7 separate regions of the Homo sapiens genome follow, and all the other regions are linked to region 3. Evidence: promoter capture Hi-C in 16 types of primary human blood cells and fetal thymus (Javierre and others, 2016). All regions are on one chromosome and are shown on one strand. Each heading gives the region's core, a stretch centred on a gene start or on the middle of the fragment in contact. The rest is flanking DNA. Distances are from core to core; before and after follow the strand shown.

What was found. The method cuts DNA at HindIII sites, captures the fragments that hold promoters and counts their contacts. A CHiCAGO score of 5 or more calls a contact.
Region 1: a contact is called between a fragment that was not itself captured here and the fragment with the promoter of ABTB2 in region 3, in 1 of 17 cell types (M2 macrophages). The highest score is 5.8, in M2 macrophages.
Region 2: a contact is called between a fragment that was not itself captured here and the fragment with the promoter of ABTB2 in region 3, in 4 of 17 cell types (erythroblasts, naive B cells, megakaryocytes and 1 more). The highest score is 7.9, in erythroblasts.
Region 4: a fragment that was not itself captured here is called in contact with the fragment with the promoter of ABTB2 in region 3 in 11 of 17 cell types (M0 macrophages, megakaryocytes, naive B cells and 8 more); the score reaches 10.3 in M0 macrophages.
Region 5: a contact is called between the fragment with the promoter of FBXO3 here and the fragment with the promoter of ABTB2 in region 3, in 8 of 17 cell types (neutrophils, total CD8 T cells, naive CD8 T cells and 5 more). The highest score is 7.1, in neutrophils.
Region 6: a fragment that was not itself captured here is called in contact with the fragment with the promoter of ABTB2 in region 3 in 4 of 17 cell types (neutrophils, naive B cells, naive CD4 T cells and 1 more); the score reaches 6.7 in neutrophils.
Region 7: a contact is called between the fragment with the promoter of C11orf91 here and the fragment with the promoter of ABTB2 in region 3, in 8 of 17 cell types (total CD8 T cells, fetal thymus, total CD4 T cells and 5 more). The highest score is 9.6, in total CD8 T cells.

Annotation. Positions count from the first base shown.
Region 1 is chr11:34,894,226-34,896,925 of GRCh38, reverse strand. It overlaps APIP (APAF1 interacting protein), which reads left to right. Exons shown (of 7, transcript NM_015957.4): 2 at 1,816-1,916. Among named protein-coding and RNA genes, the nearest start is that of APIP, 21 kb to the left of the region's middle. The HindIII fragment of the contact is 4,090 bases long and covers 1-2,700 here.
Region 2 is chr11:33,792,661-33,795,360 of GRCh38, reverse strand. No RefSeq gene overlaps it. Among named protein-coding and RNA genes, the nearest start is that of LINC02722, 11 kb to the left of the region's middle. The HindIII fragment of the contact is 1,185 bases long and covers 681-1,865 here.
Region 3 is chr11:34,356,721-34,359,420 of GRCh38, reverse strand. It overlaps ABTB2 (ankyrin repeat and BTB domain containing 2), which reads left to right and starts at 1,411. Exons shown (of 17, transcript NM_145804.3): 1 at 1,411-2,700. The coding sequence starts at 1,838. RefSeq lists a silencer at 1,226-1,425 and an enhancer at 2,376-2,485. The HindIII fragment of the contact is 9,392 bases long and covers 1-2,700 here.
Region 4 is chr11:33,829,974-33,832,673 of GRCh38, reverse strand. No RefSeq gene overlaps it. Among named protein-coding and RNA genes, the nearest start is that of LINC02721, 9.0 kb to the right of the region's middle. The HindIII fragment of the contact is 900 bases long and covers 885-1,784 here.
Region 5 is chr11:33,773,262-33,775,961 of GRCh38, reverse strand. FBXO3 (F-box protein 3) reads left to right here and starts at 1,442. Exons shown (of 11, transcript NM_012175.4): 1 at 1,442-1,568. The coding sequence starts at 1,465. FBXO3-DT (FBXO3 divergent transcript) reads right to left here and starts at 1,263. Exons shown (of 3, transcript NR_120550.1): 1 at 1,211-1,263; 2 at 599-708; 3 at 292-514. RefSeq lists silencers at 1,350-1,449, 1,910-1,979 and an enhancer at 1,928-2,428. The HindIII fragment of the contact is 5,455 bases long and covers 298-2,700 here.
Region 6 is chr11:33,812,517-33,815,216 of GRCh38, reverse strand. It overlaps LINC02721 (long intergenic non-protein coding RNA 2721), which reads left to right. Exons shown (of 3, transcript NR_183773.1): 3 at 250-1,076. Among named protein-coding and RNA genes, the nearest start is that of LINC02721, 8.5 kb to the left of the region's middle. The HindIII fragment of the contact is 4,873 bases long and covers 1-2,700 here.
Region 7 is chr11:33,699,575-33,702,274 of GRCh38, reverse strand. C11orf91 (chromosome 11 open reading frame 91) reads left to right here and starts at 1,449. Exons shown (of 2, transcript NM_001166692.2): 1 at 1,449-2,030. The coding sequence starts at 1,535. RefSeq lists silencers at 1,274-1,513, 1,694-1,783. The HindIII fragment of the contact is 1,250 bases long and covers 1,163-2,412 here.

The sequences.
Region 1 (2,700 bases), core at 76-2,575, 540 kb before region 3:
GTTTATGTGGGGATTTTTCATTAGGTTTCCTGGAATTGATCAGGCCCTGGGTTTTGTCTCATGCTTCTAGTGGCTTACATGGCTATCAAAATTGAAGTTCAAGGTCACCAGAGTTTTGCAATACCTTCAGGAACATTCTGGCTTTGGCGCTCACTTCTCTCCCAGGTAGTCTCATTTTCCTTTGTTGTTGTTGTTGTTGCTTTATTATGCTTTTAAGTTCTGGGATACGTGTGCAGAACTTACAGGTTTGTTACTTAGGTATACACGTGCCATGGTGGTTTGCTGCACCCCTCAACTCATCATCTATGTTAGGTATTTCTCCTAATGCTATCCCTTCTCTAGCCCCCCATCTGCTGACAGGCCCTGGTGTGTGATTTTCCCCTCCCTGTGTCCATGTGTTCTCATTGTTCAAATCCCATTTATGAGTGAGAACATGCAGTGTTTGGTTTTCTGCTCCTGTGTTAGTTTGCTGAGAATGATGGTTTCCAGCTTCATCCATGTCCCTGCAAAGGACGTGAGCTCATCCTTTTTTATGGCTGCATAGTATTCCATTGTGTATATGTGTCACATTTTCTTTATCCATTCTATCATTGATGGGTATTTGGGTTGGTTCCAAGTCTTTGCTATTGTAAATAGTGCTGCAGTAAACATACGTATGTGTCTTTATAGTAGAATCCCAGTAATGGGATTGCTAGGTCAAATGGTATTTCTGGTTCTAGATCCTTGAGGAATCGCCACACTGTCTTCCACAATGGTTGAACTAATTTACACTCCCACCAACAGTGTAAAAGCATTCCTATTTCTCCACATCCTCTCCAGCATCTATTGTTTCCTGACTTTTTAATGATCGCCATTCCAACTGGTGTGAGAGTCTCATTCTCATTTTTTATGGCCCCTGTGAAACTTTACTTTCTTGCCAGCTCAACAACTTATTTTGAAATATTTTAAAAAATAATTTATTCAGCATTTGTACTTATTTTTAAGATAAGGATTGTATATTATACTGCCCAAAATGGAATTCATTGTATTTCTTCTTCATTTATTTATTTATTTATTTATTTTTGTTTTCATTAATTTAAACCACAAAAAAGCAGGAGAAAATGGTGTGGGCTCTTTTTTCTAAAGAAGTAATCATTGGACTTATAAAAATAACACTTGATATTTATCTGTCTGTATACACACACATACACTCATAAACACGTATCTTCATAAAATGGGTTAAGCAAGTATTAATTGAGGTTGTTTCTTAGTGTTTTTTGTAATTTGCTTCACTTTATTTTCTATAATGAGTATATATTGCTTTTTCAATAAGAGAAACTAAAATCATTGTGGGAAAAAGGACTTTTTTGGAATAAAAATACAATTGAACCAACACACAGAGTATGTGTTGAACATGTAACTATCATAATATCTCATGTATATATCATCAAACCTAGTTAAATAAGGTGTTTTGTGTAAATAAATCTTCTGGAGAGACTGTTCCTTCAGCATGAGATTCTATTTTCTTTCAGCCATTTCAGTTGATGCTTTGTAATGTATACTAGGCATTTCCCCACCTTGTTTTTGCAGCCTGTTCCTTAGTGTTGGACTATATGGCCCTATACCGAATACTCCCAGGTTGCCAAATAATGTAGTAGATCCACTTTCTAAACATTAAAAACAAAATATGTTTGTAATAGTTTTTTCCTTCACTGTACTCTTTCTATAGTATGTTTTCTTAAACTTTCTTAAATTGGCTTCTTATTAGAAACACCAGCTGGAATAGTTACTTGATAAAATGATGTCTGTTTTAAAAATCATTACCTTCTTTTTAAGGACAAGGAGCATCCAAGATACCTGATCCCAGAACTTTGCAAACAGTTTTACCATTTAGGCTGGGTCACTGGGACTGGAGGAGGAATTAGCTTGAAGCATGGGTAAGTTTCTGGCAGCCTTTATTACTGGGAACTCTCCATTTGAGTAGACCACAGCAAGTCTAATGTGTTATATCCAAAGAACAACTGATGATCAGTTTTATGTGATACTGAAGGTCTTTAGTTTCTAAATGGACAAGTGGACATTTGTGTAACTGAATGGAAGCAATGTACAAAAGCTGCAGATATGTCAAATAGCTAAAGACTGAAGATCCACAATTTCAAATCACAATAACTTAATACTCAGTTTTTGAGTACCAGAGTTAAATAACATGCTACCAAGTATGTTCATATACCTGAGATTCTAGAGGATCCTCTCTAGGTAGATAGGATTTGTTTCAAAGGTTCAGGTACTTTGGTTTTTGAAACAGAGTCTTGCTCTGTCACCCAGGCTGGAGTGCAGTGGGGCGATCATGGCTCACTGCAGCCTTGACTTCCCAGGCTTAAACAATCCTCCTACCTCATCCTCCTGGGCAGCTGGGACTACAGGCATGTGCGACCACGCCTGGCTAATTTTTTCTGGGGTTTTTTTTTTTTTTTTTTTTGTAGAGACTGGGTCTCACTAAGTTGCATGGGCTGGTCTCAAACTCCTAGGCTCAAGCAACCCACCTGCCTTGACCTCCCAGATACATATTTCAAAGTCACTTAAATACAGATGACTAATCATTAAAAATCCTAATAATTATTTTTTATTGAATCAAAAGAACGGCAGTATGCTTTCTAAGCACCTGTATCATTAATGAATATAGTGCCTGCTAATCTGTATTCCTCAGAGGACAAAACAAGA
Region 2 (2,700 bases), core at 24-2,523, 560 kb after region 3:
TCTATCTTTTTAATGGATTAATCCTTAATTGTTATAAATTGTATTTGTCTCTAGAACAATTTTTGCCTTAAAATCCATTTTGTCTGTTATTAATACAATCACTCCAGCTCTCTTTCGGTTATTTTTCCTTAGTATAGCTTTCCATTCTTTTACTTTCAACCTATTTGTTTGTTTGGTTCTAAAGTGTTCTCTTTAGTCATAATATGGTTGGATCATGTTTGTTTGTTTTTTAGTCCTTTCTGCCAATCTCTGCCTTTTAATTGGAATGTTTAATCCATTTATATTTAATCCAGTTATGGATACAGTAGGATTTATGCCTGCCATTTTGCTGTTTGTTTTATACAAGTCCTGTATCTTTTTAAAATTCCTCTAGCCTCTGATTTTTCTTTATTCATGTGATCTCAGAGCCATTTACTGAAAAAATTCAAACTTTCCTTCACTGATCTGTTATAGCACCTTCACCATATATTACATTGTCCATATATTCCTATTGCTTTTCTGAGCTGTCTATTCTAACGCATTAGTGTATTTTTTTCTATCTCTACGACAATACTGCCCTGAATTAATTGTTATAGATTTATATCTGGTAGGGCAATTCTCCCCATCATATTCATTTTCATCAAGAGTATTTTGGCGTTTTTTTGGACTAGTGCTTTTTCATCCAAATATTTAAATAAGCTTGCCAAATTTTACCAAAATATCCATTGAGATTTGTATTTTTATTGTTGGATGTTCAGATCAATTTGTGATCATTTATATTTCTATGATATGGAGTTTTTAAATCAATTTATTTGTAGTAAGTTAAAAAGTTATAGCTCTTCATTTATTTAGGTATTTTAAAATGCCTTTTATTGGTTTTATAATTTTTTCCAATAATTCTTGCATAAGTTTTGTTAGATTTCTTTCCAGGTTCTATTTTTCATTGCTATTGTAAATGTTACCTTTTTAAATTTCAGCTTTCTAATTGTGTGGTTTATGTATAGAAATATATATTTTTTTCTTTTTGAGACAGAGTCTCACTCTGTTTCCCAGGCTGGAGTGCAGTGGCACAATCTTGGCTCACTGCAGCCTCTGCTGCCTCCCGGGTTCAAATGATTCTTGTGCCTCAGCTCTGAGTAGCTGGGACTACAGGCATGCACCACCATGCCCAGCTAATTTATTTGTATTTTTAGTAGAGATGGGGTTTCACCATGTTGTCTAGGCTGATCTTGAACTCCTGAGCTCAGGCAATCTGCCTACCTTGGGCTCCCAAAGTGCTAGGATTACAGGCATGAGCCACTGTGCCTGGCCTAGAAATATAATTTAATATATTGATTTTATATTCAGGAAACTGAAGATGCACTCATAGTAACTAACATTTTTATGTAGATTCTTTTGGGTTTTCAAAACACATAATGATATAATCTGCAAATTATACAGTTTTATTTCTTCTTTCCAATATCTTTTACCATATATTTTATTTTCTTGCCTTACTTCACTGACTATTTAGTACAATGTTGAATTTAAGCAGTGATAGTGGACATTCCTGTCTCATTCCCAGTCTCAAAGGGAATGTTTCCAATATTTCATCATAAATATGTTAGACACAAAAGACTATCTATTGTATGAGTCCAGGCATAGGACATTCTAGAAAAGGCATAACTCATCTATAGTGACCGCAGATCAGCAGTTGCTTGGGGCTGAGGCTTGGGGAGGAACTGGCAGCAAAGAGGCACAAAGGAATTCTCTGAGGGTATTGAAAATGTAGAACATTGTGATAATGGTTACACAGGCTTATACACCTGTCAAAACTCATTGAACTGAAAGCATAATATTGTATATAAATTATACCTCAATAGAGTTGGTTAAAGCACCCTAAGAAAGCTTTCTTCTCTCTACTGTACTGTATATACAAAAAGGTTTTGGGACTCTCACCATATACATGTGATTCTATTTCAGGTTTCTTCATTCTGTTTCATGGATCTGTCATTTATTTCACTAATACCACACTGTCTTGATAATTGCAGCTTTTTTTTTTTTTTTTTTTTTTTTTTGAGATGGAGTCTCACTCTGTTACCCAGGCTGGAGTGTAGTGGTGCAATCTTGGCCCGCTGCAACCTCTGCCTCCCAGGTTTATGCCTACATAAAGCGATTCTCCTGCCTCAGCCTCCCAAGTAGCTGGAACTACAGGTACCTGCCACCACGTCCGGCTAACTTTAGGTATTTTTAATAGAGACAGGGTTTTACCATGTTGGCCAGGCTAGTCTCAAACTCCTGACCTCAAGTGATCCACCTGCCTTGGCCTCCCAAAGTGCTGGGATTGCAGCCATGAGCCACCGCGTCCAGTCTGACTGCAGCTTTTATTAAGTCCTGAAGTTAAGACCTCCAGACTTTTTCTTTCTGAAGATTGTTTTGGCTATTCTAGGTCCTTTGCCTTTTTGACTAAATTTTAAATTCAGTTTGTCAATTTCTATGTATGGAATATATTTTTGTTACACAAATCAAATTTGCTGTTGCCTTTCCCTGAGGAGAATAGGTCTCTCCTAGGACAGCTTCACCTTGTTTCCTTCAAGGAGGCAGCATGGTAGAACAGGAAGAGGAGGTGCTTTGGAGATGGATCCATCATGTGTTTCCAGCACACTGCTTCCTGATTTTGTCTCTTTAAGCATGTCTCTTGGCGTCTCTGAGACTCAACTTCACTAACTACAAAATATGAGTATG
Region 3 (2,700 bases), core at 162-2,661:
ATAAAGACCCGCGGAAAGGCAAAATTAAGCGAAACTGCCAAATAAAAAGCAGTTTCACCGGGGGTAAAGGCCATTAATTTAAGAAGGAAAGAGACAAACCAGACATTTCTAGTTCATATCCAACTCACGGCCCAAGGTCAGAACTGTGTAAAATGCAACACAAAGGAGCCATTCAGGAGTGGGGGAGGCTGACTTGGGGAGAGCGAATGCACAATCCCCGCCTTGAGCCTGCGGTTCCACTGGAGGGGGCACAGGTCCGTTTGCGCACGTGCGTGTGAGTAGCCACAGGGCAGCGGCGGGACATGCCTGCACCGGGCATGGGACTGCTGAACCAACAGCGCTCTGGCGGACCGTTTGGGACACCCGCCCGGAGGCAGGTTGGCACTGGCGCTGCCTGGAGGTCAGCCACTCATTGTACCCCGGAGGAACTGGGTCCCGCGGGGGCATACGGCTCGCCCACCGGCACGCGTTAGGAGGCGAACACCTGCATCCAGCTAGGTGTTCCGAGCTCAGCCCAGGGCGAGGGACTGCTCTGCCACCTTCTTCTCATTCTTCCTGTAAGAACACTGTCTATCTCGGACAAAAAGGACCCACCTGACAGCAAGTGGTATCGTCACACAGAGGTAACAGGGAAGTCACGGATCCTCTTGAGAATCTGACAAAAGTTGGTGCCCCTTCCCCATAGTGGCACTCAGAAAACTGCAGGTGAAACCACAAATGGGCGGAGGCACTCACAGGCTTCCTGGGGCCCGTCCATTGATCAGATACCAGGTTAAGAAATTCTGTCCTTATTGGAGCCTAGACGGCAGCGCAAAGGAACCAGACGGACTTGGAAAGAGAGGCAGGGACTCCCTCCTCCCTCCAAACACAGCCAGCGTTTCATCTCGGATTGCGGGAGGGGCCTGGCGGAAGGTGGAGGAGAGGTGGAGCGCCTGGATGGGGCCCTCCCCATTCTCCTGGCCCCAACCCCAGGACGCCTGGCTGCGGAGGGCTCGAAAGCGAGCAGCGAACGCCCAAAGCCTGGGTGGCGGGAAGGTGGCAGCGCCCTGTAGCTTTTCCTTTGCATTTTTCTTTAAATCGTGAGCTCCGGAGCTATCGTTTCGACCGCTGCTTTCCGGTCTCCACCTCCACCTCCCAGTTGGCTGGCTCGCCCTTCCCCCACCCCCCCATCCCCCCCATCCCCCCCCATCCCCACCCCCATCCCAGCCGCGTGCCCGACCCTCGGCCTCCAGCCCCGCCTCCTTCGCCGCGGGGTTTAACCCGAGGCAGAGTGAAATCTGCATAGTGACCGCCCCCTCGGAGATCATTGGTGCAGCCCCGCCCATCGCGGCCGGTGATTGGTAAGCCGCCCGGGGTTATTTGCATGTCGGACGCAGCCGGGTACCCAGCTGTGCTGCCGGCCGGCGCAGCGCAGAAGTTTGCAGAGCGCTTTCTCGCCGGCTGGTCCCGGACTCGCGCTGCGCCCTGCGCCCTGCGCCGCCGCCTCCTCCTTCTGCCGCCGCCGCCCTGTTCTCCCGGGATTCCTTCTCTGTGGAGGACTGACTCTCTGCTTGTGGGAATTAGAGGTGGACAAGGGGGAGTGCCGGGGGGTAGCGACGGGGTTCTTTCCAGTGGCAGCTGCGAGTCGGGACGCCGGGAGCGTGGGGCTCCTGCTGGCCACGGATCTCGGCCACCTTCCCGCGGCCTCCGGGCAGGCAATGCGGCCGCCGAGCCCCGCGACGCAGAGAGGAAGGAGGGTGGCCCGGAGGGCCTAGAGCTTGTTTCTGCCCACTTGGGAAAGAGGGCATGGAGTTGTGAGTGCCCCTCGCTCGGCGACGCCGCCCTCGGCAGGCTCCCCATGGCCGGGACGTACAGCTCGACTCTGAAGACGCTGGAGGACTTGACCTTGGACTCCGGGTATGGGGCCGGGGACTCGTGCCGCTCGCTCAGCCTCTCGTCCTCCAAGTCCAACTCGCAGGCGCTCAACTCTTCGGCGCAGCAGCACCGCGGGGCGGCCTGGTGGTGCTACTCCGGCTCCATGAACAGCCGCCACAACAGCTGGGACACGGTGAACACGGTGCTGCCCGAGGACCCCGAAGTGGCCGACCTCTTCTCGCGCTGTCCGCGGCTCCCCGAGCTGGAGGAGTTCCCCTGGACCGAAGGAGACGTGGCCCGGGTGCTCCGCAAAGGCGCTGGCGGCCGGCGGCTGCCCCAGTTCTCCGCCGAGGCGGTGAGGCGCCTGGCCGGGCTGCTCCGCAGGGCACTGATCCGCGTGGCCCGCGAGGCGCAGCGCCTGAGCGTGCTGCACGCCAAGTGCACCCGCTTTGAGGTGCAGAGCGCCGTGCGCCTGGTGCACAGCTGGGCGCTGGCCGAGAGCTGCGCGCTGGCAGCCGTCAAGGCGCTGTCCCTGTACAGCATGAGCGCCGGCGACGGGCTGCGCCGGGGCAAGTCCGCGCGCTGCGGCCTCACCTTCTCAGTGGGTCGCTTTTTCCGCTGGATGGTGGACACCCGAATCTCCGTGCGCATCCACGAGTACGCAGCCATCTCCCTCACCGCCTGCATGGAGAACCTGGTGGAGGAGATCCGGGCCAGGGTGATGGCCAGCCACAGCCCTGATGGCGGAGGGGCCGGAGGCGGGGAGGTGTCTGCTGAGGCCCTGGAGATGGTCATCAACAACGACGCCGAGCTCTGGGGCGTCTTGCAGCCCTATGAGCATCTCAT
Region 4 (2,700 bases), core at 85-2,584, 530 kb after region 3:
CGACGCTGAGTTTTTCGGCAACTTCTCATGTAGTTGTAAGAGGATGAGCTTCAGTGATGGCTCTCAATTAGTCATTGTCAGCTTCCGACGGCTGGCCACTACATTCCTCACCTTCAAGGCTCTTGTCTCCTTTGCAAAACTTCTTGCACCACCACCGCACTGTATGTTTGTTAGCAGTTCCTGGGCCAAACGCACTGCTGATGTTGCGAGCTGTCTCCGCTGCCTTACAACCCATTTTGAACTCAAATAAGAAAATCACTCGAATTTGCTTTTTGTCTAACATCATTTCCATAGTCTAAAATAAACATAAAATAAACTAGCAAAAAAACATAAAGCGAGAAATGCCCATTAAAATGATGTATACGGTAACCACATTTATTTACATTCTTAAATGTAAATAAGAATTATGTTCTTAATTTTATCTTTTCTTGCCTTATGTTTTATTCCAATATCAAACGGAAAATTCTAACAATGCAAAAACCGCAATTACTTTTGTACCAACCTAATATCTATATATATATATATACACACATGAATAATTTGTTATATAATTTGATTTTTTTTTTTTTGAGACAGAGTCTTGCCCTGTCACCCAGGCGGGAGTGCAGTGGTGCGATCTCTGCTCACTGCACCCTCTGCCTCCCAAGTTCAAGAGATTCTCCTGTCTCAGCCTCCTGAGTAGTTGGGATTACAGGTATGCACCACTATGCCTGGCTAATTTTTGTATTTTTAGTAAAGATGGGGTTTTTCCACGTTCGCCAGGCTGGTTTCAAACTCCTGACCTCAGGTGATCCACCTGCCTCGGCCTCCCAAAGGGCTGGGATTATAGGCGTGAGCCACAGCACCCAGCCTAATTTGATTTTTTAAAAACCCAAATATAAGCTTCATATTTATTTCTGCAAAATTCCGTCTACTGGATTACACAGTGTCAATTACAGCCTAACTTTCAGTTGAAAAGCTAGAATCTTCAGAGATTCCCCCAGGGGCCATGGAGGATGGGCTGTTGAGGGTCCCTGATTTCCTCTGCTCTTCCAGAGAAGAGCCACCTGCTAGTCTTCTCCCTCTGAGAGAGAGATTAGGCTTCCATGGCAGTGGAGAAGGTAGAGGGGGCACGAGAGATAACTTCCTGAACACCTCTGCCTCTAACTTCCTACATTGTCCTCTCTGATCCTCATACAGCCAGGAGTGGTGAGTCAAGCAGGTGCTATTGTGCCTGATTCACAAGTGAAGTTACTGAGTTATAACGAGGTGAAGGGTCAAGTTCTAGGCACTTCTCCAACTGTAATGTACATGAGGATCACCTGGGGATCTTGTTAAAATGCACATTCTGATTCAGTGGGTTGGGTGTGGGGCCTAAGATTCTGTATTACTAAGAAGCTCTTGGGTGATGCTGGAGACCACGAGCCTCTCGGTGAAACAGCAGGTGAGATGCTTTAGGGCCAGTTCTCTGGATAGAGGTGGGAGTCGCAATCACATTGCCCCTAGCTCCTCCTGCCACTAAATTTGGCCACTTCTATTTGGAAGTTGGGAGAGGATTATCCTATTGCAGTACTGTGTCTAGAGGGGAAGGTGACTCATGTCCCCTGCTCCTTCCCCAGGCAGAACTCAGAGTTCTTTGTGTCTTGTCTGCTCCTTGCCTGAGCTTTTTGGCTATTTCTTTTTCTAAACTTGAATAAAATACAACAGCAAGAAAATAGCAATGACTCCTGTTGGAGTCCAGTATAGCTGAGATCACCTGATTTTAAGTCGGGCTCAGGTGAGGCAACTTGTTATAATGGAAAGCTTTTAGCTTCCAGAGTTAGACACCTGGGTCCAAATCCTGGTTCTGCCCCTTACAAAATATAAATAGAAGGAAAATGTACTTAAATTTCTTGGCTGGGTGCGGTGGCTCATGCCTGTAAGCCCAGCACATTGGGAGGCTGAGGCTGGTGGATCATTTGAGGCCAGGAGTTCATGACCAGCCTGTCCAACATGGCAAAACACTGTCTCTACTAAAAATACAAAAATTAGCCAGGCGTGGTGGTGCATGCCTGTAGTCCCAGCCACTCGGGAGACTGAGGTATGAGAACACTTGAGCCTGGTGGGTGGAAGTTGCAGTGACCTGAGATCGCACCACTGCACTCCAGCCTGGGTGACAGAGCGAGAATTTGTCTCTAAATAAATAAATAAATGAATAATAAATTGGCCTCAGCTAAAGTGGCAGACTTCCATCCTGACCCTTACTCTGCCCAATAACCCCACTGGAGGGCAGCCCATTTCAGGTTACCCTGCAACATCACCAGAATTCTCAGAATGCTCAGTCTGCAATTCCAAGTTATTCCAAAGCTAAGTCAGTCTGATGTTCTGGGAAGAGAAGCTGAAAGCCCAGCACTTAGGGGAAGTTTGGCCTCCAGGGCATCCCTACAGGTTGTACTCACTGATGGGTGGCATGGTGTGGGGGATGATGGGAACTCAGTTGGGTCTGAGGACAGAACCTCCCTATCCCTTGATGTTAAGTTAGCCAGAGCACACCACCACCAGCCCACATATGATGCTAAACCTCCTTTCCCAGGCAGCCCACACCAACTTCTTCCAGGAGTCGATGTTTCCTATGGAAAATGGATTAAATAAGAATCTCCTTGAATTCATCAGACAGCCCTGAACTCTGATGTCCTGTTGGTCCTGATCTTGACTCCACCTCTCTCCTTGAGGGAACTGGTG
Region 5 (2,700 bases), core at 193-2,692, 580 kb after region 3:
AAGTACTTGAAATCCAATTCAATAAATGTTCTTCTAAGCATATGCATAAACAATTTGGAAGCACAGAGATGTAGGCAGAGTTTTTTGTTGCTGTTGTTCTGTTTTGTTGGCTGGGTGGCAGGGGTTATAACTATTAAGCAAAACCATAAATAGAAGGCATTAATGGTATGAAGAATGGAGGAAATGGATTTTTTTGGGGCGGGGCATATCACTTCCACTCTTCCAAATAATTGAGAGAAACTTTCTCCAGGATATGGAAATGTTTGGAGAACTTAGTGACTGATGCATGTATAAGCTTGGAAAATTAACATTTATTGAGTATCTGGCCAGGCACTTTACATAAAGCGTTATCGCCATCCTTAGTTCACCAGAGGAGGGGTGGTTTTAGAGATGAGGGACAGTCTCAGAGAACTTAGGCGTAACTACGCCAGCATTTCACTAGTAGTGAAATAAATGACGGGCGTGTGAAGTCCAGGTCTGTCTGGATTCCCCAAAGCCCCTTACACCATACTACCTTTGGAAAAGCAATGGAAAAGAAGAAATCAGGCAAGTGATGTATGGACCCATTATACTTCCCCCACTCTCATTTTAATATCACCTTGGCAAAGCTGAAGAGCAGACATCTTCGTGCCTCCATCAGTTATGCCCTCTGGGAGTCTCAGTTCATCCCTTCACACGCGGGATACTTAACTCTGCGGGATCTAAACCCTGGCCAAAATAAATTTTAAAGCTGGAAAAAATCCACACTGTACCCTTTGCATTGCCCTAATAGGCTGAAAATAGCCATGATAACCAAATTAAGGGACAGCGGCTGAGACTCAGACTCACTCCTTGTACACATTTTACTTAGGAAGGCGGGGAGGGGCGTGAAGTTAAGCCCTCAACAATTATTTCCTTAATTTGGGAGAAGGGCCTTCAGCTGGCGTCCCTGGCTGATTCTCAGCTCTGCTCTTGCTGAGTGGACAAGTCTCGGAGCGGCCCTGCTGTGTGCGGGGGACAAGCGGGGTGGGGAAGGCTGAGCGGGGAAAACGAGGGGTTCTCGGGTTGGAAAACAAAGAGAAGGAATGGATTTGGGGACCAAGGGCGTGGAGGAGTGTCAGATTTTGAGCGAGGCTTCCTGCATACTGAGTGTAAAATTTCGCAGGAGGAGTTGGGCAGACCGAGGCAGATTTGGCAACAAAAGGGTCCCGGGCTGGGCAAGTTTACGAACCGGGATGCGAGAACAGAGCTGGAGAGATTTGACGCGGAGCGCGAAGAAAGCGGGCTGAACTCGCACTGCGCCGCTGGCTCCCGGCTAGCGGGCGGGGTCTCCAGGGAGCCGCACCTCAGCCCACCCTGAGGGCGGGGCTGGCCCGGCGGTTACATAACAAACCTGTGAGAGCGGCTGGGGGCGGTTCGGGCGCTGGTGGGGGCGGGGCAGGGGCGGGGCCAGGGCGGGGCCAGACCTGCACCGGGCCAGGCAAGATGGCGGCCATGGAGACCGAGACGGCGCCGCTGACCCTAGAGTCGCTGCCCACCGATCCCCTGCTCCTCATCTTATCCTTTTTGGACTATCGGGATCTAATCAAGTAATGGGACGACACGCATGGCAGGGGTGGGGGCATGGGGAGAGGAGGCGGTGAGGCAGGGGGAAAGGGGGTCGGGGCCGCTGACAGGACCCGAGCTTCCGCGACACCAGAAGGTGACGCCAGGGCCGCCCTCATCCTGCGGAGCCACCGGGGACCGGGGCGAGACGGGGGCGGAAAGGGCCTCGCCCTGAGTCTTCCTCCTGTCCTGGGCCCAGGTATGAGAAGCGACGAGATATCTCTCTCCCAGGCCTCGGTGAGGCCCACTTGCAAGAGAAGGAGGTAGTGGCCCTCGTGCCGCACCGCCGCGCTCCGCGGACCCCCGCTGGCCCCGCAGGTGCCCGCCCGGTTGGGGTCAGTCCCTGCTGCTGTGTAAAAGCCCCTGTCCCGGCCAGGCGCTCTTCTCTGCTGGGTCCGGGGCCTGCGGAGTCTGGCGCCGGGGTGGGCAGGTGGGTGAGCGAGAGGAGAAGATAGGCAACCCCTTACTCCCCTGGCGCGACTTCCCCAGCGCCAGAATCGCTGTCCGGGCTCACTTTCGGACTTCAGTGCGTGAGAATTGTTTTGCTGTCAGCATTGCTCCTTACGGTTCGATGTTGGATTTTATGTTTTGGTACTGACTTCCGGTGATGCCATACCGGTGACTATCTTTTCTCCTGGACACCTTGGGTTTCCCACATTACTAGCATCTGTTCCAGAAATAAACACCGGTTGCTGATAAGGGTGGTTCAATGCCCAGTTTCTTCAGAACTTGGGACTGTCTGGGGTGGTGGAAGAAATGGCGCTGCCAGCCCGCCCCCCAGCTGTCAGGATTGTTTACACCCTTGACAGGGGGTGGCATGGCTGTGAGTTTCCTGTGCTACCGTATATATTTGCAGAGGATGCAAAGTCGCCCTCTTAGGATAGGTGGGCGAGATTTGTTTTGTGTTTGGATTAACCATTAGATTCTAGCCATTTGATGATTGTGCCCTGTGTTATTAGAGGTCTTTTTATAAATACAGATTTCTTGGAGCTACAGATAGTTGTTGGCCTAGCTAAGTGGTGATAGAGAGATACCTCAAGTTTTTGGTCACTACCTGTACTGGTCGCTACCTGTACCTGCTAGCAATTTTATTTTTCTAGAAAATACTTACAATTT
Region 6 (2,700 bases), core at 137-2,636, 540 kb after region 3:
TGTCAGGTTTTTCCCCCTAACGTTAGCCCTTCTATTTTGTGTTTGTGTGTGGAGGTATTTTCATTTTGGTTTTAATTTGCATTTCTCTGGTGACTGATGTTGAACCTCTTGTGTTTATTGGCTATCCATATATCTTGTTTTATGAAGTATATGCATATCTTTTGCTTATTGTATTGTTATAGTTTTCTACATATCACCACACATTTGTCAGCCTAAACCAAAAACTAAAGTCCACTTACTGTCTCTCAGTTTCCATAGGCAAGCCGTGGCTCAGCTGGCTCTTCCGCTCCAAGTCTCACAAGGCTGCAATCAAGGTGTCAGCCTGGGCTACAGTGTGATCTGAGACTCAGGTCTTCTTCCAAGCACAGGTGGTTGTCTGCAGAATTCATTTCTCTGCCGCTATAGAACTCATGGTGGCTCGTTTCCAGGCCAACAGGAGAGCTTCTCTTCTGCTTCAAGAGCTTAAAATTCTTCTTATCATGCCCATTTTTGTATTGGGTGGTTTGTCTTCTTACTGAGTTGGATGAGTACTTTATAAATTCTAGGTACAAGCCCTATGCAGATGTACATATTGCAAATATTTTCTCCCAGGCCATAACTTGCCATTTCATTTTCTTAATGGAGTGTTGGGAGAAGAGAAATGTTTGATTTAAATGAAGTCTAACTTCTCAACTTTTTTTTTGTATGGTTCATGCTTCTTATTCTTATACAAGAAACATTTGCCTATCCAAAGGCTACAATATTTTCTCCTATATTTTCTTCTAGAAGTTTGATAACCTTAGCCTTATATTTAGTTCTATGACCCATTTTAAGTCAACTTTTCTGTATGACGTGAGATAAGAGTTGAGATTCAATTTTCCCCCCAAATTGATATCCCATTTTTACCACACTATCGGTTGAAAACACCATTTCCCCTGTTGGCACCTTAACTGAAAAAAATAAATTGACCATACATAAGTGGATCTAATTCTAGATGCTTTATTGTTGTATTAGTTTACATTTCTCTACTTATATCTACAATAATTATGTGATTGCTCCATGTTTATATTAAGTCTTTCAATAAATTATATCCTTCAGCTTTTTGTTCTTTTCCAAAATTGTTTGAGCTATTCTATGGCACAAAGGTCATATTTTATATAAATTTCAGCTTGCCAACTTCTAAAAGAAAACAAGCCTGCTAGGTTTGCACAGAATACATAACTCAATTGGGGAAGAAATGCCATTTAATGATATTGAATTTTCCGATTCATAAATCCAGTATATATCTCCATTTTCCTTCAACATTATGTTATAGTTTTTGGTGTACATGTTTGCACATATTTCATTAAAATTTCACTGAATATATTTCATAGTTTTGGGTGCTGTTATAAATGGCATTTAAAAATTTCATTTTCAGGCCAGGCGTGGTGGCTTATGCCTGTAATCCCAGCACTTTGAGAGGCAGAGGCAGGTGGATCACCTGAGGTCAGGAGTTCAAGAGCAGCCTTGCCAATATAATGAAACCTTGTCTCTACAAAAATACAAAAATTAGCCAGGCATGATGGCAGGCGCCTGTAATCCCAGCTACTCGGGAGGCTGAGGCAGGAGAATTGCTTGAACCCGGGAGGCAGAAGTTGCAGTGAGCCGAGATGGTGCCATTGCACTCCAGCCTGGGTGACAGAGCGAGACTCCATCTCAAAAAAATTTTTTTTTCATTTTCAATTATTCATTGCTGGTATATAAAAGTATTACCAATTTTTGTATAGTGATCTTGTGTTTTGTGACTTAGCTAAATTTACTTAATAGTCCAGGAGATTTTAAAAAAGATTCCTTATGATTTTCTATAAATATGACCATGTCATGAGCCAATAAAATTTGTTTCCTTCTTTTCCTATCTATATGCCATTTTGCACTTGCTGAGACCTCCAACACAATGTTAAATGAAACTAGTGAGACCAGACATCCTCCACTTGTTTCCATTAGTAAGGAGAAGGTATTCAGTTATTCAGTATTCAGAAAGTACTCAGTATTCAGTGTTATGTATATATGTATATTTAGTGTGTATATATATGTATCCAGTAAATTTTATATATATAATATATAGTATATCTAAATATAGTATATCATACCATTAAGTATGATGCTGTAGGTTTTTCATACATGCCCCTGATAAGGCAAAGGCTGAGGAAGTTCCCTTAAATTCCAAGTCTGCTGAGATTTTTTTTTTATCATCAATGGGTATTAAATTTTGTCAAATATTTTTCTGTATATATTTAGATTATTATATGGTTTTTCTTTTTTAAAAAAGTATAATGAATTACATTGATTGATTTTTGAATATTAAGCCAACCTTGGATTCCTGGAATTAATTCTAGTTGACCATGATGTATTTGTGTGTGAGATATATATATGTGATATATATATATACGTATATATGTGTATATATGTATATATGTGTATGTATATGTGTATATATGTATATATGTGTATATATATATTTAGTGTGTGTATGTATACACAGTACATAATTATATACATAATATATCTAAATAATATATACATATGTTATATATAAATACACATACATACATACATACAGTCTTCAATTTGCATTGTTCCAATATGTACAAATTTCAGTCACCATGGGTTAAATAAATAACACGAGGGTGACCCAAAAATACAGTTCAAATCTCAAATCTCAGTTATCAAGGCATATTAACT
Region 7 (2,700 bases), core at 200-2,699, 660 kb after region 3:
GCTATGTTGCCCCTGGCTGTTCTCAAACTCTTGGCCTCAAGAGATCCCACCTCAGACTCCCAGAGTGCTGGGATTACAGGCTGGGTGCTGAGCTATCGCACATGGCCTGTATTAGCCATAGACTGAGGGGAAATACATTTTCTTGAGAGCCTCAGCCTAGTGATCACTTGTATGAATAAACAATGATGGGTGGCTGCCAAAGTCAGAGAGCAAATACTGCGTGTGACAACTAAGTGTGGGAAGCTCAGTGTGGGAAGAAAAAGCTTCCCAGTTTCAGACATGCCCCTTAGTAGGGACAGCTGCCTCTTGTGTTTGGACAAAGTGTCCAAGTTCAAGTGTTTCACACACACACTGTTCCGTCTTCTGTTTGATCACAACCCTATGAGGCAGCCTGGTTTTCTTATTTCTATTTTATGGAAAACCTACTTAAAAGTCAAGCAACTTGTCCAAGGCTACCCAGCTTGAATATCTGACTCTCTCCACTTTGCTGCTACACACACACACACACACACACACACACTTTGCACTGTGTGTGCAGATACATATGCATATATATATTTAACTTGTGAAGCTGATACTGACTCTTTAACTGCCCTCCACCCATCACTAGTCATACCAGTGATCATTAGGCAGAGGCTCTCAAGAAAATGTATTAGTTATTTCCCCTCAGTCTATGGCTAATACAGGTTACTCACATAAATGAGCTGTCATGTCCTTTGGACAAAATGTCCAAATCGCTCATAAGCAATGGGTGAAGTATTTGAGGTAGGGCGGACAGGATTTCCTTTTGGTGGTTAGCTCGTTGCCTGTTAGCTCCTGGTGATATCTGTGTTTGGAAGAGAACTAAACTGCATTTCACTGAAAACACTCCTTCAGGTCTATTACAAACCAGATGAGGATCCCCTTTTCTAGAATCTTCCTCAACACTGCTAACGTTTGGCAGATACATAGGTTGGCTCTAACAGCCATTCCCAATCAATCCTCTTCTCCTTTGTCTGCCTCCCACAGTAGTGGATGAAAAATCAGACACTGATTTTCTCAGACTTCTTTGCTGTGGGCGCGGCCAGTGAGGCAATGAGGTAAGTCTGCTGGTGCAGGGGCCAGGTTTCTAGGAAATACTTTTCTCCCTCATGGGAGAAAGAGAGGAAGCCTGAAGTAAGCTTTCTTCTGCAGCCCTGGCCCGCTGCCTGTTCTGGATGAGGGTATGCTGGGATATGACAACGGAAGCCAGCGGGGTCGCAGAGCAAGAGCGAGGCGGTGGGCGGAGTCGAGGGACGGGAGGCGAGGCGAGGCGAGCCAGGGGGCGTGGCTTTCTAACTGCGGGGTGCGGCCAGCCGAGGTGGGCGGGGCCGCGTTCCGGGACGTGGTCGTCCGGGCTTTGGAACCCCGCCTGTTAGGGGCCGGGCTGAGGCGAAAGGGTGGGGCCGCGCTCCATCGGGGCGGGGCTTGTGGAACCTCGAAACCCCGGCGACTCGGGGCCTGAGCGCGCGTCTCCCGGCGCGGGGTTCCTCCCACGCAGACCCTCATTCAAACGATGCCAAAGGGGCGGCGCGGCAGCCACAGCCCCACCATGAGCCAGCGGTCGGCTCCGCCCCTCTATTTCCCGTCCCTGTACGACCGCGGCATCTCCTCGTCCCCGCTCAGCGACTTCAACATCTGGAAGAAGCTCTTCGTGCCGCTGAAGGCGGGCGGGGCGCCAGTGGGCGGGGCGGCGGGGGCCCGGTCCCTGTCCCAGGCGCTCCCCGCCCCGGCGCCCCCGCCCCCGCCACCACCCGGCCTGGGTCCCTCCAGCGAGCGCCCCTGGCCCTCGCCCTGGCCCTCCGGCCTGGCCTCCATCCCCTACGAGCCTCTGCGCTTCTTCTACTCACCGCCGCCGGGGCCTGAGGTGGTTGCCTCGCCCCTGGTCCCCTGCCCCTCGACCCCCAGGCTCGCCTCTGCCTCCCACCCGGAGGAGCTCTGCGAGCTGGAGATCCGGATTAAGGAGCTGGAGTTGCTCACCATCACTGGGGACGGCTTCGACTCCCAGAGCTGTGCGTGACCTCGCCAGGGCCACCGAGCCCAGCCTTAGCCTGCCCTAGCTCCCTCCTTGGCTCCGTGCCCCGACCCGAAATGTAGCCTGGTTTGACTCCAGCCCCCAGTAGTCCCAGATCCAAAATCTATCCCCTAGCACCCAGACTCCCTTATCCTGGACTTAACCGACTCCTCCCCCCACCACAGATCTGAACTTCATGAGCCTCTTAGTCCCAAACTCCATCCTCCCTCCGTCCTAAACCCTTTGGGTCATCTGGACTCTGAGCCTCCACACCTGGAACTCCATCCGCCACCACCCCGTCCTGAACTTTAATCCTCCTGCACAGTCATCCTCCTACCCTGTACTCTGGAGCTCCACCCACCACAGACAGTCCCTAAGCTTTAATGTTCGGTCCTAAACCGGGGCTCTCCATGGGGGGAAGGTGAAGTAAGGTGACTGTCAGTTGTCTGTAGGGGGAGGTGGGAGTTGTGCAAGAACCACAAGGCCCAAGGCCGTTTCCAGGGCAGCTTTGGGACACTCCACTTCTCAATGCTGGGGGGCAGCCCCCCTGGGACTCTGTGGCCTTGGCGCCGGTAGTTCTCTCACCAGGATCCTGGGCTGATATCTGGTCTTACGTCTGAAGTCTTAGGGCTCTGGACCACGTGTGCTGATGCGGGCAGGATCCCTCA